5 separate regions of the Homo sapiens genome follow, and all the other regions are linked to region 2. The links are contacts of gene promoters, found by promoter capture Hi-C in blood cells and fetal thymus (Javierre and others, 2016). All regions are on one chromosome and are shown on one strand. Each heading gives the region's core, a stretch centred on a gene start or on the middle of the fragment in contact. The rest is flanking DNA. Distances are from core to core; before and after follow the strand shown.

Region 1 (3,264 bases), core at 327-2,826, 310 kb after region 2:
GGAGGAGGGAGGGAGGCTGCAAACCCTGGCTCAGCTAGTCCACTGAGATAATCCCTGGGTGTGATCTTGCACCTGCTAATATCCTGAGAGAAATGTCCTACTGGGAAAAGTGGGACCCTGTCTCAGGGCTGCTTGCCCTTCCTTTTGGGTCCCCTCCCACCACATCCCAACACTCACGGGGTTAGGGGTGAAATGCCTCTCCCACTGCTGTCACACATTTCAATTTTCTGGTTTTATTTTTCAGATTCCCTATCTTTGTCTACTCAGCGAACACAGGGCCCCGGTGAGCATTCAGACTCTTAACTCTCCATCATAAAGCAGATGGGAAGAGCCAAATGGAAGAGAGAGGGGGATGGCAGAGGGCTGGATAATGACAGAGGAAGGAGTCAGAATGTCATTACTCAGACCACATGCTGTGAGGGGAGATGATCTGTAATCATGGGTCCTACATGGTTCACAGGCATAGGCATGTGAACCAGTCACTCACACAGTTTCTCTTGGTGATATCAGGTTCATTCACCACCCTGCTGATGGAGAAACTAAGTCCCAGTGAAAGGGATCATCCCTTGTCACCCAGCAAGTCCAGGGCACAGGCAGGATTAGAGCATCCAAGGCACAAAACCAAACTGTCTGACTGCATCATTACTGTTCAGCCAGGGTCTGGGCAATGGATAGACACAGTGGAAAGAGAAAACATGATATAGAAACACAAACACAGGCTCTGGACTCAGATTGGCTTTGGGTCTCATTTCATGCATGAGTGATGCATGACATCACTTGCAGAGGAAAAGGCATAAGGTTTGAAGTCAGAAGACGTGCATTTGAGTTGCTGTTTCATCACTGTCTGTATGGCTTTGCACAAGTCAGTTAAGTTTTCTGAGCCTCCAGTTCCTCATCTCCAAAATAATCAAATCCGCTGTAGAGACCTCTGAAAAGCTTAATAATATCCCAAATGTGAAATAACTGGCTCCATTATGTTTGCCAATGAGGTGTCTTTAGCCCTTCCATAGGCAGGGCTATTTGGTCCCAGGAGCTTCCTGACCCACATGTGAAGCCTGAGGGAGACTCTGAAGCTTTAGGGGACCTCAACACCACCTTCTACCCCAAGAGATGTGGTCAGAAATAGACCACATGACTGAGAAGGTTCACCCAGAGCTCCAAAGACTGTCAAGAACGAATGATCCCTCAGGAAAGGAGATGCTTCAAACACCTGCCTATCTGGGGACACAGTGTGCTCTGGGGAGGGAGAAGTCCTGGGAGAGAAGTCCCAGAGTCCTTGTGCCATTGACTGTGCCTTCCTATGTTAACAGCAGAGTCCGCAAGGAACCTAGAGTATGTTTCAGTGTCTCCAACGAACAACACTGTGTATGCTTCAGTCACTCATTCAAACAGGGTGAGTCTTTTCAGCTTTATATGCCATTGTTGTCAGTTTTACAGCCATTGTTCACAAACTTGTCACCATAACCATCTGACTGAACAAATGACCACTGAGGGGAGGAGAAGACAGCCACAGCGACAGGGGCTGCAAAGTTATGCGCTAGACCACTCTGGTGTCTGCCTTTCTCACCCTTAAGGGAATGTTTATTCATACCCTGCCTTACACAGTTCTCCAACCGCTTGATGCATCAGTAAGTCTTGTCCCTTCAGCTTAATTACAAGCTGACTGAAAGTACAAATTATGTCTTCCTCTCTCTTGCCCTATATCCTAGCATAATGATCAGTAAATACTTGCTGAATGGGTCAGAGTTCCACTAAGTTTGAAAGTTTCCTATGGACGTAGTTCCATAGCAGGTGGCTGACTTCTCACTCTGCATGTAGGGGTCTTAGGGGAGTTCAGAAGTAGTCTCTCAAGAGGGGAAGGGGGCACAGTAGAGGCCACTAAACCATGAGCAATGGTTCACCCCTCCCCTCTCATCTAGCAGCATAACAGGATGGCTGGTCAAGCATCAGCAACTCATCTGTCATGTATCAGCAACTCCCCACCACCCCTAAATAAAGGACCTGCAGGTGGCACATCTCTAAATAATACCATACATTTTGAGAGGCCAGTTTTCTGAAAAATAAGCCAGGAAAGCTTAGCATTTTCAAAATGATGTAAGCAATGATCTAGCTAGAAATCTTGGATTCCCTTCACCTATATTTGCAAAGTATGATCCTTGATGACAGGAAGCAAGAAGGGGTACTCTCACTTGCTCAGACATTTCTTTTGCCTTTGCAAATTCCTCCTGAAAACAAGTCAACTCACACTCTGACAAATCAAAAAACTAATTTCCCACAAATTGGTTAGCTTTCTCTTTAGCAAAAAGAAAAAAAAAATGTGCTTTGGAGAGTTTGAGGTTTTTTTGTTTTTTGTTGGTTTGTTTTTTGTTTTTTGGTTTTTTTTTTTTTTTGAGACAGAGTGTCACTCTGTCACCAAGGGCTGAGTGCAGTAGCACAATCACAGCTCACTGCAGCCTCAACCTCCTCATGCTCAGGTGATCCTTTTACCTTGGCCTCCCAAGTAGCTGCGACTACAGGCGAGCACCATCACATCAGGATAATTTTTCTACTTTTTGTAGAGACGGGGTTTCACCATGTTGCCCAGGCTGGTCTCAAACTTCTGCGCTCAAGTGATCCGCCTGCCTCGTCCTCCCAAAGTGTTGGGTTTACAGGCATGAGCCACTGTGCCCAGTAGAGATCTTGATAATTCTCTAAATACTTCTTCATTAATTTAAAGTGTCAAAATCTTTGAGTAGGTTCTTTGAGGGCCGTAGGGACTTCTGCTATTATTTCTGTAATGTGCATTCCAGGCAGAGCCATTCTTAAGGCCAAGTGTTCCTATTCTACCAATTCCCCATGCTTGAGAAGACCCCAATGACATGATGACAAGGCAGTTAGAATTATAGCAAAAGATGGAGCAGGCAAAATGGGTAGTTTCAGTCATAGCTAGTAAAAATTTGAGACAAAACATATAATAAACTATCTGGTATATAAGTTTTTTCTTAAAAATGGAGGAAGGAAAGTAGAGCTGGACAAAGGACAAGAATACTTCCTTCCCTTCATACAGCAAGGCTGCCTTTCTCTGGCTCTTGAGCCCATTGGTTTGCTGCAGTGTTGCTGTTCTGTTTGGGGCTCAGGAAATGCCACTAAATCCTCACAAGTTTGATAGCTAGTCGTGCTTGGTCTTCCACTGAACATTCCCCAGCCTTCCTCTGGAAGAACTTTGACATATTCTCTTTTTTGTCACACAGTCTTTCCTAAGAATATATCTATGCATTAATCTCT
Region 2 (3,418 bases), core at 230-2,729:
TCAGACCAAAAGAGTGAGATTTGAGGTCATCCTAATCAGTGGAGCCAGACCAATGGAGATGCCTCTTTGCTCTGAACTGTTTGAAATTCACTGCATTGATCATTTGCGGCTTGGATGACCTTGAATGTAGCTTATTTCAGGTTTGCTCAACACAATCAAGGAACACCCCAAAGGTTGGAGGTAAACATAAACAGCCTTGCTGCTTTCTGTGTGTTTTGATGAGCCAAGATAAAATTGAAAGTGAAAAGAGGTCAGACTGGACCTCAGCTCTGAGGTCTAGGCTCCTCGTTCACCCATATCTGCATCTAGGAGTGTTTCTAAAGCTCCCTTCAGGCACCAACTGCCAACCCCCACTGCTCTCAGATCTCTAGTGCTACCTGCACCATCATCCCTGAAGCCCTGGAGAAAGCGGGAGCACAGAAGGACAGTAGCTGCCACAGTCCCAGGTGGCTGAGATCCTCTCTGGGGTACTGGATTGGCTCTATCTGCTGGACAGTGGGGTTCCGGGCCATGCAGCGGAGAGATGTTTCCCAGGAGTTGGGCCTTGATAGGGAGGAATAAGGTTGAGGAGAAAAGGATATCCAGATAAACGCCACCTTGCCCATGGTCACCTAACCGCGTCCAGGTCCCCAGTGAAACCTCAGTAATAAAGCCAGCATATATGATAACCAAGGCAGGATACATAGAAAGAAGCTCCAGAAGTTCTCTCCATCCCTAGGAAATTGCTAGGTGGCTTCTCATCAGGGGATTTTCCTGGATCCCTCTGTGGGTTTTATCCACACCATACAGGGAACAAACTCATTATATACTTGGCATTTCTTAGGAAAATGTGAGGGCAAGAGAAATGTAGTTTGAGCCCAGAGCTATTTGAGACCGGGGCTAGAATGTTACCCCCTTCATAGTGCACGAATATGCACACATGCAAAGTAATTTCTGGCAAGGAGATGAGTTTCCCGATTTTACCAACAAGAACTGGGCTCACGCCTGTAATCCCAGCACTTCAGGTGGCTGAGCTGGGCAGATCACGAGGTCAAGAGATCGAGACCACCGTGGCCAACATAGTGAAACCCTGCCCCTACTAAAAATACAAAGATTAGCTGGGTGTGTTGGCATGCACCTGTAATCCCAGCTACTCAAGAGGCTGAGGTAGGAGAATCGCTTGAACCCAGGAGGTGGAGGTTGCAGTGAGCCGAGATTGCGCCACTTCACTCCAGCCTGGCAACAGAGTGAGACTCCGTTAAAAAAAACAAAAAACAAAAAAAAGAATCTCCCAGGCAGGGAATGCAACTGGCCTCAGAAGAACCGCAGTAGCAAGAAGTGGTGGCCATAAAGTGGACTTACCCATGAGCAGGAAGAGGAGAGAGGTCTGTAGAACAGAAGAGAATATTTGCAGCTGACTCCTCTGTGGCTTACTGGAGAAAGGCCCAGGAGCCCAGTCATCTGTGTGACTCTTTGGTGCCACCATGATGATCTATTTTCAGAACTGAGACTGAAGGAGGATGCACTTACCACAGCTTCCGCACGTGTCACAGCTTCTGCATGTGTATATGAGTGTGTGTGTGCATGTGTATGTGTATGTGTGTGTGTCTCAGAGGGAGGGTTGTTTATACAAAACACCACAGACTCCTCCCATCTGCGCAGGCAGGTAGAGGTCCCAAGTCTATTCAGGGCCTCATTTGTGACTGATGTGGAGCATCACTTGCTTTGACATCAAGGGACTTGGGTTCTAAATTTGGCTCCTAAAGGTGACTGCTAAAGATCTGTACCTCCTGGCATTCATGCCTCTGTGTAATCACCTCTTCTTTAGTGTGGCCTGGATTTAGTGACTTGCTTCAAGTGAATAGAATGTGGCAGAGATGTGGGATGGGTCACTTCTGAGATTAGGTTACAAAAAAGCTGTGACTTCCATCTTGGGTTAGCATGTGTGTGCATATGCGCTCTCTCTTTCTCTTGCCCTCTCTCCCTCTCTGTCTTTCCCACTATCTCTGTCTCCCTACCTTACACTGAGGGGAGCCAGGTATTGTTTTGTGAGATACTTTAGGGAGAGGGTTCCAAAACAAAGAACAGAGGGAGGCCCCCAGCCAACAATCGGCGAGGAGCTGATTCCTCTGGCCAACTGTCCATGAGGACTGAGGCTAGCCAAGAATCACATGAGTGAGACTGGAAGTGGATCCTCCCCAGGAGGTCCTTGAAATGACTGCAGCCCTGGCTGACACCGTGATGTTAGTTGTGTGAGTACCTTAAGCCAGAGGCACCCAGCTAAGCCATGCCCAGATTCCTTATCAAGAGAAACTGTGAGATAATAAATGTTTGGTTTTTAAATTTTTTTTCAATTTTTTATTTTTCATCAAAAATGCTTATTGTTTTTAGCTGTGAAGTTTGGGGCAATTTGTTACACAGCAACAGATAACTAATACAGTGACCCAATACATTTTCTATTTTGCTCAAGGCAGTTTGTGCTAGCTTTCTGTCACATGCAATGAAGGACTTTTAATATGGACAAAGGCATCAGGGAGACTGCAATGGGGGTGGACATCGTATGTGACAGCGTAGAGGTGACTGAGTTGAAAAGGTAGGCTGGAGAATGGCATGATTCCCTATATCCTGACTTGGGAAACTGTCTTTTTCTCCTCCTTCTTCTTGTCAGTAGCGTAATAGCTGGCCATGCTATGGTTTGTGTTTCGGGCTTCAGGTCATTTGTTTACTTAGGCTGTAACATTAAGGGGACTTGGCAGGAAAACTTGAGGCTGGCAGAATGTGTAGTTTTAGCTAATATTCGATGAAAGCTTACAGAGTGCTAGTCCATCTTCTGACACTTTAACATATTCACTCATTTGATCTTACAATAGTTTTATGAGATATCTTTTATCATCCCCATTCTATAAATGAGAAAACTGAGGTGGAGAGGGGTTAAATAGCTTACTATAAGTTTTATAGTTAGTAAGGACTTGAACCCAGGAAGTCTGGGTTCAAAGGAAGAAGGGAGAGAGAGAGAGAAACCATTAAGATAACAGGCTTATGTCCATGGAAAGCATCTTTAGAGGCTGGTCATGATCTGATGTTGCACAATATTGAAAGTGACAGAATCTCGAAAATCTTTAAATTTTGTGCACTAGGAGCGTGTCTTGTTTCACTCTAGCCTTGGTCCTGTGACTAGAACATGGGCTGTCTAGAGGGGATTGCAGGACATACGGTCAGGAGAGGTTACCAGAGCCCAGATAAAGCATCCTGTTACCAAGCTAAAGGCAACAAGAATCCAGTAGGAGTAGGAAGCTTCCTGGAGCTGCAGAGTGGAGGGAGAATGGGTGGAAGGGATGAGCCTGGGGATGAGAAGACAGGTGCGGAAGCTATTGAAGGAGTCTGGGTACAGAACATGAGAGCAGGAACAGTCTGCATGGGAGGCGAGGGCAAAGGCAGA
Region 3 (3,511 bases), core at 291-2,790, 360 kb after region 2:
TAGAGACTTTTTGAATGGCTTTGACCAAAATGCTGATAGTGATATGGACAATGAAGTCCAGGCTGAGGTGGTCTCAAATGGAGATGAGGAACTTGTTAAGAACTGAAGTAAATGTCACTCTTGCAACGCAAAGAGACTGGCAGCATTTTGGCTCTCATTCCCTCTCCTGCCACAAAGTGAAGAAGGATGTGTTTGCTTCCCCTTCCACCAGAATTGCAAGTTTCCTGAGGCCTCCCCAGCCATGAGAAACTGAGTCAATTAAACCAGTTTCGGGTATTTCTTCATAGCAGCATGAGAATAGACTAATACAGTCATGTTGGCAAAAAAATTTCTAGCCAAAGATAATTTATATTGGAAACTGCTCCTTCAATTTCTATGGCCTTTAGTGATAAGATCTCATTTTGGCCCTTTTTTTGTGTCATTATTAACGTCTCATGGATCAGTTAAGTTGCATACTGAACTGCTTTTGTATAAACTCCACACGTAAGGCCTATCTCACAACATATCATTTAAGATTCTCATAAAATCACAATTTGATACAGGTGGCACAATTTTATAGCATGAGCAACAATGACCTTACCAAACTATTTATTACATTCATAAAATTTAGACCTCTTAACAATTTTGATCTCTTGCATCAATTATCTTAGAGTTAAGTAAGGCGTGTTTAGGACCCTCAAATTTTCAGGGGTATATTAAGCTTCTTTTAGGGCCTTGCTGCTCAAAATAAGGTCTGTAGAACATCAGCAGCAGCACCTGGTGCTTTATACTGTGTTGCCCCAGAATGCATATGTTGAAGCCTAACCCCCAATTTGATGTTATTTGGAAATGCGGCCTTTGGGAGGTAATTAGATTTAGATGAGGTTATGAGACTAGGGCCCTCGTGATGGAATTAGTGCCCTTATAAGAAGAGACATAAGAAACCTCGCTCTCTCACTCTCTCTCTCTCTCTCTCTCTCTCTCTCTCTCTCTGCCATGTGAGGGCACAGCAAGAAAGCAGCATCCTATAAGCCAAGAAGAGATCCCTCATCAGATCCTAACCATGCTTGCCAGCCCAATCTCGGACTTCCAGCCTCAAGAACTATGAGGAATAAATTTCTGGATTTTAAGACCCCCAGTCAGTCTATGGTATTTTGTTACAGCAGCCTGAGCTGACTAAGACACCTGGGCACCTGTTTGAAATGAAGAAACTCAGACCCTACCCAGACCTGTTGAATCAGGGTCTGTATTTCACATAATCCCCAAGTGATTTGTACACTTGCTATACGCACCATTAAAGTTTGAAAAACTCTATTTTGGGGACCTATTTCAAGACAGAGTAAAAACCCGATGAACATTTCAATTCCAGGAAAAAGGTTGCCCAGGGTCGAATTCTTCAATATGCTCCAAACCAGAAGTACACAATCTCGTACCAGTCACTGAAAATGAATTCTACAAGCTCAGCTTTCCCTGATGATACAGTTTGGATCTGCTTTCACTTCAACTGGATTCCATCTTTGAGGCCAGAGGTACTGTGTTAAGATATAAGTAAACTGACAGAAGACAAGAAGTCCTTCAACAAGTGTTCTTTATTACAGTAAAAACCATCCCAGCCAACCCCACCCTAAAATCACACATTCTTATGTCAAAGAGAACTAACATTAACAGGAACTTGAAAGGAGTGAAAATCTTCACTAAGTTAAATCACATGTTTCCTGACTCATTTAAGTCCCCTCATGCAAATTTTTGGTTGTCACAGTATTATTGATGGACCAACAGAGCTTCAGCTTCCTCTTCAGTGGTCTTTAACAGATTTCCAAGCTCCATAGTGACACTGTTAAGGGATTCAGGGGAAACAGCACACACCTGCATTTTTTTCCCCTGAATCACAAGTACCTATAATACTATCACTTTTATTACTAGAGCGGTGTCTAGAATTAGGTAAAGTTGTGCTTGATGTCTTCTTAGTCAGGTTTTTTTAAATAGAGTTTGTTTGTAATTTATTTATTTATTTTTGAGATGGAGTCTTGCTCTGTTGCCCGGGCTGGAGTGCAGTGGCACAATCTCAGCTCACTGCAGCCTCCACCTCCCGGGTTCAAACGATTCTCATGCCTTGACCTCCCGAGTTGCTGGAATTACAGGCGCATTCCACCAAAATAATTTTTGTATTTATAGTAGAGACAGCGGGGGAGGGTTTCACCATGTGGGCCAGGCTGGTCTCGAACTCCTGATCTCAAATGTAAATAGCCTTTTTAGAGTAGTTTTAGTTTCATGTGAAAATTGAGTGGAAGGTACAGGGATTTTTTATACATGCCCTGCCCCCACACTTGCATGGACTCTCCCATTATCTACATCCCCCACCAGAGTGGTACATTTGTTCCAATTAATCACTCAAAGCTTATAATTTACATTAGGCTTCACTACTGGTACTGTATATCCTATGGGTTTGGAAAAATGTATAATGCCAAGTATCCACATTTATAGCACATACACAGTAGTTCCACTGCCCTAAAAAATCCTAAAACCACATACTTTTAACCACATACTTACCCTAAGTGAAGCAGCAGCATGACCTAATTGTGCCCAAAAGCAAGAAGGGACAATACACAACCGAAGATCTCATACTCCTAATTTTTTTTTTCTTTTTTCTTTTCTTTCTTTTCTTTTTTTTTGAGACAGAGTTTCACTCTTATCACCCAGGCTGGAGTGCAGTGGCCCAATCTCGGCTCACCACAACCTCTGCCTCCCGGGTTCAAGTGATTCTCCTGCCTCAGCCTCCCAAGTAGCTGAGATTACAGGCATGTGCCACCACGCCCAGCTAATTTTTGTATTATTAGTAGAGACGTGGTTTTACCATCTTGGCCAGGCTAGTCGCGAACTCCTGACCTCAGGTGATCCACCCGCCTCGGCCTCCCAAAGTGCTGAGATTATAAGCGTGAGCCACTGCGCCCAGCCATACTCCTAATTTTTATAACCTTATAACCAAAGTCATTCCCCTTACAGGATATCAGAGTACAGATGGCTATTTTTGACAAGTGACATCAAAATAGTTTACATATCAGGCTCAATACCCTCACACACTGTTGGCTTCAGTCTGCCTTTTACAGATGGTATTTACCACCTCCAGGAAAATAGTGTGCTTCCTCGGGTTGCCTACAACATATGACAAAATAAAATTTCCCAACTTATCTAGCAAAAGTCCCATGAGCTCCAAGGGGAGGGGGCCAATGTTTTATTTATCTTTGTATCACAATGCCTACCACACAGTAAGTGTGCCCCCAAAACTTGCTGAGATGAAATGAGAGAAGCCAATGCCTTGGCCAGGTTTCCCAACTCTAAACCAGTACCTTCTCCCACTATTCTACATACTCAAATGTGGCATTCACTGTTATGAGCAGGTAGGATGTCATGTCTGCCCTGCCGTTTGTACCAAGAGAAATGGACCCCATTCTCAGCCTGAAAAGAAACTGGGGAGCTAGACAGGGATGACTATTCTCCAAGATTTACTATGTAGGTGGTCCTTTATTATCTC
Region 4 (3,007 bases), core at 438-2,937, 390 kb after region 2:
TATCATTCCATTTGTATGAAATATCCAGAATAGGTACATCCATAGAGACAGGATGCAAATTGGTGGTTGCCAGGGGCTGGGGTAAGGGGAAATGGCGACAATTGTGTAATGGGTATGGGTTTTGTTTCGGGATGGTGCAAATGTTTGGGGACTAGACAGAGGTGGTTGTTGCACAGCACTGTGAATGTACTAAATGCCACTGTTCACTTTAAAATGGTTTATTTCCTATTATGTGAATTTCACCTTAATTTTTTTAAAATCCAGCTAACAGGGCATCTCCTGCAGGAACCTTCCCTGGCACCTCACCCCAGGGCCAAGCACTCTTCCTCTATGCTCCAGTGGCCTCCTGAACACACCTCCACACAGCACTCACTGGGCTGCAGTGAATCAACATGTTTTCACATGTCTCCCCTGGGAAAACATCTTATTTGCCCCTCCATCCCCTGTGCTTCACACTGTGCCTGGCAGATAGGAGAGAGTGCCTAATGTGGTCGGCCAAAGGAAGATCAGAACCAAAGCCTAGTTCTCCTATCCCGACTCCGACCTCTCTCCCTTAATGATGATTATCCCTCAGAATCCGAACCATCCAGCTAACATTTACTATGTGCCAGGAACTGTGCAACGTGCTTTCTCTATTATTTCATTTAATCCTCATAACCCCAAGAAGTAGGGCCTATTATTAATTCCATTTTACAGGTGAGGCTTCAAAAAGTTACCAGTTTTGTCTGATGTCACGGAATTAGACAGTGGCAAAGCCAGAATTTAAAAGCAAACCAGGGAAGAAAGCCACTTGGTGGGGGACCAGGGATTCCTTGTGGAAGGGCTCAGTCTAGGCTTGGAGGATGTGCCTTAAGACACCTAAGAGGCTGGGGAATGGGGTTTATTACTTGCCCAGATCACACCACTGTTAAGTACTAATTCCAACCAACTCTGACTCCTTTCTCTGGCCTCACAATGTGATGAACACTTGAGGGAAGGAGAAGACTGGAGTTCCCTAAAACTCAGAGGGGATCAGATCTCTTCCTTTTCCCTGCCAAAGCTTCTGTTAGTCAAGTTCCCTCCCCATTAACTGGAAGGACCTGGAAACCAGATGAGCAGATAAAAAACTGTCCTGCTCTAGGGCCAGGGAAGGGGGGATATTTCCTCAGATCTAAAAGGATCAGGAGGAGAGGCAAACACACCAGAGAGGCCTGCCCCGGAAGAATTAGAGGAAATAGAAGTCAGGAGCAAGACAATGGGTGAGGAGGGGCCAACGTGGCCACTGACTCCCAATCTGGAAGTACTTTCAGAAATGGCATTTCCTATTATCTGACCACAATTCCTCCTCTTTGGAAGAGAGCCCCCACCAGCATAATATATCATGCATGTGATCAGCGTATACAGAGCAAACAAGGGACCCCAGAGGGCCAGGGCACACCATCTTAGATGCAAGTGCCTTACTAGCCCTGGGAGCCCTAACTATCAGACAGGTGTTGGGTTTGGGGGAATGATCCATTAAAAAAAAAAAAAGGTCTTTTAAAGGTCTTTTCCTACTCTGCCCCGTTCCCCGTTCCTCGTTCAAACATTTTCTAACCCCTACTACTCTTATCTCCAGGCCTTAGGGAGGGTAGGGAGCCCTGAGGACTAAAGAGGGAACATTCCAATTGCACATGCCCATTAGAGACTCTAACATTCCAATTGCAATTGCCCAGAGACCATAATGGGTATGTACAATCTCACCTCAGCTCTTAAAACTGGGTGCCTCAACCCAGCCACTGGCAGCAAAAAGAGTGTGCAATGGGGGAAGGCTAGTATCCTAAAGAAGGAGGTGAGCAACCCCTTTCCTATACCCCAAAAGAGAAAGGATGAGAGAGGACAGGGAGAGAAGGGAGCTGTGGCTTCTTGGTGGAAAGAGACATTCACTTCCTGGATAGTCACTGACTTCCCACCACACTATCATGATGATGAGTATAGCAGTATAGCCTGCAATGGGTACCTGGCCCTTTCCCGACACACAGACACTCAGCCCTGGCCCCACACCCACAGCTCCATCTCAATCATGCTTGACACCAGGGAAAAGGGAAACTTTTTGGTCTGATAAACCACACAGACTCACTTGCAAAAGCTGCTGAAGAAACACCCTATGCCACCTTCTCAACCCCATGGGCAGGGAACCCAAGCTGTTCCCCACCAGGTCTCAACCCTCCAGACATGCTTCCTCCTCTTGTTTCCATCCCACACCAAAATCTCAAGACTCCTCAGGAACTTTAGGATCTTAGAGTCAGGGCAGAGTTAGAAGGCTATGAAGCAGCAAACTCTGAGACGGCTTTCCAAGAGAACTGTGGCCTGAAGCTTTTACCTAAGGCTGGGAATCCAAGAGTGTAGCTTCTCCAAGCGCTGGAACCCAGCCTATGACGATGGGGGAGGAAGTTCCTCTTATTCTTCTCCCTGACCCCGCCAATCTTCCAAATTCCTCTAGGACTACAACCAGACCCCTTGTTCCCTATTCCCCACAACACACGCCCTCTTCCAGAAAAACCCATCCCCCAAAAACAGGCACTTCATAAGACAACTCATTCCCTCCCACCCATAGGTCTCAGATACTTAAGGTACTACCCCTAAACCCAGGCGAGGCCATCCACGAAGTCTCAAAATCCTGCAGACAGCCTTCTTTTCGGGATTTTTGCCAGGAAAATCTGCCTGCAGAGTCTAGAGGTACCCCCGACACACACTCAGAAACATACATACCAGCTAAGGCAGGCACACACATTGATACCCATCAACACAGGTTACACACAAGAGAACACAGATTCACACCCCTTCCCAGTACACAGGTGCACACACACCTATCCACATACACTCCATTCTGCTCTTACACACCCACCTTCCTCAGTACCTACACACCTCTTTCCCGTGAACCCCTCTCCCAGTACACACACATAGACATACACGCCCTCCCCTAAGTATACATATAAACACATATCCAAACACACAGCAGATGCATGGTCAGCCGCTCCCTGGGTGCACA
Region 5 (3,122 bases), core at 463-2,962, 260 kb after region 2:
CCAAAACACAAATAATGGTTATATTGGCCATGCTAATGTCATCTGGTGGCAGAAAGGACCAATGGATTGCTGTGGTATAAGGCTTTGTATATGTAATAACTTATAAGTTGAAAATTTATAATTAAGCCCTGGCACAGTGGCTCACGCCTGTATTGGGAGGCTGAGGTGGGTGGATTACTTGAGGCCAGGAGTTCAAGACCAGCCTGGTCAACATGGTGAAACCCCGTCTCTACTAAAAGTACAAAAACAAAAAAAAAAAAAAGCCGGGTGTGGTGGCACACACCTGTAGTCCCAGCTACTTGGAAGGCTGAGGCACGAGAATTGCTTGAACCCGGGAGGCAGAGGTTGCAGTGAGCTGAGATGGTGCCACTGCACTCCAGCCTGGGCAACAGAGCAAGACTCTTTCTCAAAAGAAAGAAAAGAAAGAAAAAAAAAAGAAAAGGAAAGGAAAGAAAGAAAGAGAGAGAGAAAGTTAGTTTATAATTAGAAGAAATTCTTTAACCTGAAAAAAAATGGAAAGATATTCAGTGGTCTAATTGCCAAAAGTGTACCAGCCTAGATGGTCTTAAGGGCTAGTCCTATCACCTACAATGAAAGGATAATTCCCAGTCATCTTAACTGTCCCAAGGCATAGAAAACAGTGGGAAGCTTCCAAATTCATTAAATACTATAATATAACACTGATTCCAAAGCCAGATAAGGATGATCCCCCACAAAGAGATACATAGGCCAGGAGTTAGCAAACTATGGCGTGTGGCCACATCCAGTCTGCCATCTGTTTTTATTTGACCCACGAACTAAGAATAGTTTACATTTTTAAAATGGTTGAAAAGAATTCAAAGAATAATAATATTTTGGGACATGTTAAAATTATGTGAAATTCAAATTTCAGCATCCATAAATAAAGTTTTATTGAAACACAGCCAACACGCATTCTTTTATGTGTTTATTATGGCTGCTTCCATACTACACCAGCAGAGTTGAGTAGTTGCAAAGGAGATTGTATGGTCCACAAAGTCCAATATTCACTACTGGGACCTTTACAGAAAAAGTCTGCCACATCCTGATATAGTCCAATCTCACTTATAAATATAAATGTTAAAAATCTTAAACTTCAGTCAATTTTAAAGCAATGCATTAAAAGAAAAAAAAATGCGACCAAGTAGGATTTTATCCTTAGAGTGCCAGGATGATTTATCTTTAAGAAACCATCTATTGTAATTTGCTGTTCAAACAGATTAAAGGAGATGAAAAAAATAATCATCCTGACATAGTCTACAATATATATTTGATAAAACTGAATACCCATGACTGATTTAAAAAGTTTTCAAGAAAGCTAAAAATAGAATGTGTTTTAGTCAATATCCAATTTTAAAAAACTGAGACCATGTTAAATACTGAAAACTCAACAAGCTGAATATAGGGAATTGATTCCAAAAGTGATGGAGGAGTAAAACAGGGAAGCTGAGGTTACCAAGCAATTAATAATTCCAGGAAGTTGCTATGGAACTTTGTCCCTATGGAAATTTGTCTTGGGAATCAGTGCTGCCAGCTTTCAAGATTCTAAGAGTTCACAGTCTCATCAAAACTGTGAGACTCTGGGAGACAAAAATAACTCACCACTGCAGATGCCACCATCAAAGCCTGATCCCACCAGTACCACACTAGCAAGACTTCTGACATGCTTGCTGGAACTGCACTGCTACACCAGGAACCCTGAAGCGGTACTCATCTTCTGCTATCACTGCCACTACTGAAAACATTACCAGAAACCAAGATTATGGAAAAATATATAATTTATTCCTTCCATCCAACTTTAACCAATACCACCCAGTGACAAAATCTAATCAGAAGCCATCTGACAATGGAAATGATAAATGTAGTTTGCAGACTTCTAACCTTCTGAAAAACAAGGAACACAGAAGGGTGGGAATAGAGCTGAGAGCAAATAAGCAAATGACTGGCTCGGGTTAAACTTTTACAACTTGATACAGCATATGTAGCAAACATTTATTGGAAACATTAGAGGCATTCTTAATAAAGAAATGAATACAAGTAACCATTCTTGTATTCAGTGAATACAAGATCACTGCTACTCTTCAACTGTATTGTATTGAAGATCCTTGTTAGTAAAGTGAGTCAAGAAATACATATAAGAGGCTATCTCACATCTAGAATCAGTCATTTTTCTAAGGGGCATTGGTTCTTCAGAGAGAATATTATTTATCCACCAAGATCTTGGATAATGTCACTAATTTTTAGTTACTTAAGAAATATGTGAACACATTTCTATCATCTTTTTAAAAATCAGTGTAAAAGTATAGAGATAGAGAGAGTGATGTCAGCAAAGTGGTGGACTAGGAAATTCCAAACTCTCTCTTTCCCCCAACTTAGAGTAATAAAAAAACAGCCAAACAAACAAAAAAAAACCCAAATGGTTGAATTAACCTTATAGGGACTCTGGAAAACAGTCAGAGTTTTATAACAACCAATCAAATGCCCAATGAAGAAAAAGCCACTTTTGAAATGGTAGGAAAAGTTCCATGGCATTTTTCTTGCCCTTGCCCCATCCCCTCCTCATCCCAACAGAAAGCTTGTTTAGAGGAGGCAGGAGTTCACTTCTCAGTTCCCTCTCTTGAATGGGAGGGAACATAACAGATCTTATTTGCAATATTCTAATCTGTCTTAGGAGTCCATGAAGAACTGGTCTCTATTTCACTTAATTCAGATCTCAAGTGGGAAAGTGCCACTACTATGAACCCAAAGCTATCAAAATAAAGAAAATAATAAAGATTAGACCAGAGATAAAATAGAGAAAATTAATGAACCAAAAAGTTGATTACTTAAAAGGATCAACGAAATTGGCAAATTTAGTTAGAGTGGTTATGGAAAAAAAGACAGAGTGCTCAAATTACTAAAATTGGAAATGAAAATGAGGACACTACAACCAATTTTTCAGAAATGAATAGAAGAGACTACTACAAACAAATTGGATAACATAGATGAAGTAGACACAATTTTTACAAAGACTGAATCATGAAGAAATAGAAAATCTGATTAGACCTATAACTACTAAGAATATTAAGTAAATAATTTTAAAACAACTTCCCAACAAGGAGAAG

Evidence for each region. The method cuts DNA at HindIII sites, captures the fragments that hold promoters and counts their contacts. A CHiCAGO score of 5 or more calls a contact.
Region 1: a contact is called between a fragment that was not itself captured here and the fragment with the promoter of LY9 in region 2, in 2 of 17 cell types (total B cells and naive B cells). The highest score is 5.3, in total B cells.
Region 3: a fragment that was not itself captured here is called in contact with the fragment with the promoter of LY9 in region 2 in 6 of 17 cell types (total B cells, naive CD8 T cells, non-activated CD4 T cells and 3 more); the score reaches 7.5 in total B cells.
Region 4: a fragment that was not itself captured here is called in contact with the fragment with the promoter of LY9 in region 2 in 1 of 17 cell types (non-activated CD4 T cells); the score reaches 5.7 in non-activated CD4 T cells.
Region 5: a contact is called between the fragment with the promoter of CD84-AS1 here and the fragment with the promoter of LY9 in region 2, in 11 of 17 cell types (naive CD8 T cells, non-activated CD4 T cells, total CD8 T cells and 8 more). The highest score is 14.9, in naive CD8 T cells.

What each region holds. Positions count from the first base shown.
Region 1 is chr1:160,487,217-160,490,480 of GRCh38, reverse strand. SLAMF6 (SLAM family member 6) reads left to right here. Exons shown (of 8, transcript NM_001184714.2): 5 at 245-283; 6 at 1,311-1,393. Among named protein-coding and RNA genes, the nearest start is that of SLAMF6, 34 kb to the left of the region's middle. RefSeq lists enhancers at 1-103, 842-901, 1,012-1,141. The HindIII fragment of the contact is 1,001 bases long and covers 1,076-2,076 here.
Region 2 is chr1:160,794,235-160,797,652 of GRCh38, reverse strand. It overlaps LY9 (lymphocyte antigen 9), which reads right to left and starts at 1,479. Exons shown (of 10, transcript NM_002348.4): 1 at 1,342-1,479. The coding sequence starts at 1,465. The HindIII fragment of the contact is 6,680 bases long and covers 1-2,788 here.
Region 3 is chr1:160,430,764-160,434,274 of GRCh38, reverse strand. It overlaps LOC105371467 (a long non-coding RNA gene), which reads left to right. Exons shown (of 3, transcript XR_922202.3): 3 at 1,349-1,410. Among named protein-coding and RNA genes, the nearest start is that of VANGL2, 32 kb to the right of the region's middle. The HindIII fragment of the contact is 1,676 bases long and covers 703-2,378 here.
Region 4 is chr1:160,401,650-160,404,656 of GRCh38, reverse strand. All of the region lies in intron 1 of VANGL2 (VANGL planar cell polarity protein 2), which reads right to left. The region is part of intron 3 of LOC105371466 (a long non-coding RNA gene); the gene reads left to right. Among named protein-coding and RNA genes, the nearest start is that of VANGL2, 2.6 kb to the right of the region's middle. The HindIII fragment of the contact is 1,292 bases long and covers 1,042-2,333 here.
Region 5 is chr1:160,535,686-160,538,807 of GRCh38, reverse strand. CD84-AS1 (CD84 antisense RNA 1) reads right to left here and starts at 1,712. Exons shown (of 2, transcript NR_188634.1): 1 at 1,621-1,712. The HindIII fragment of the contact is 1,945 bases long and covers 651-2,595 here.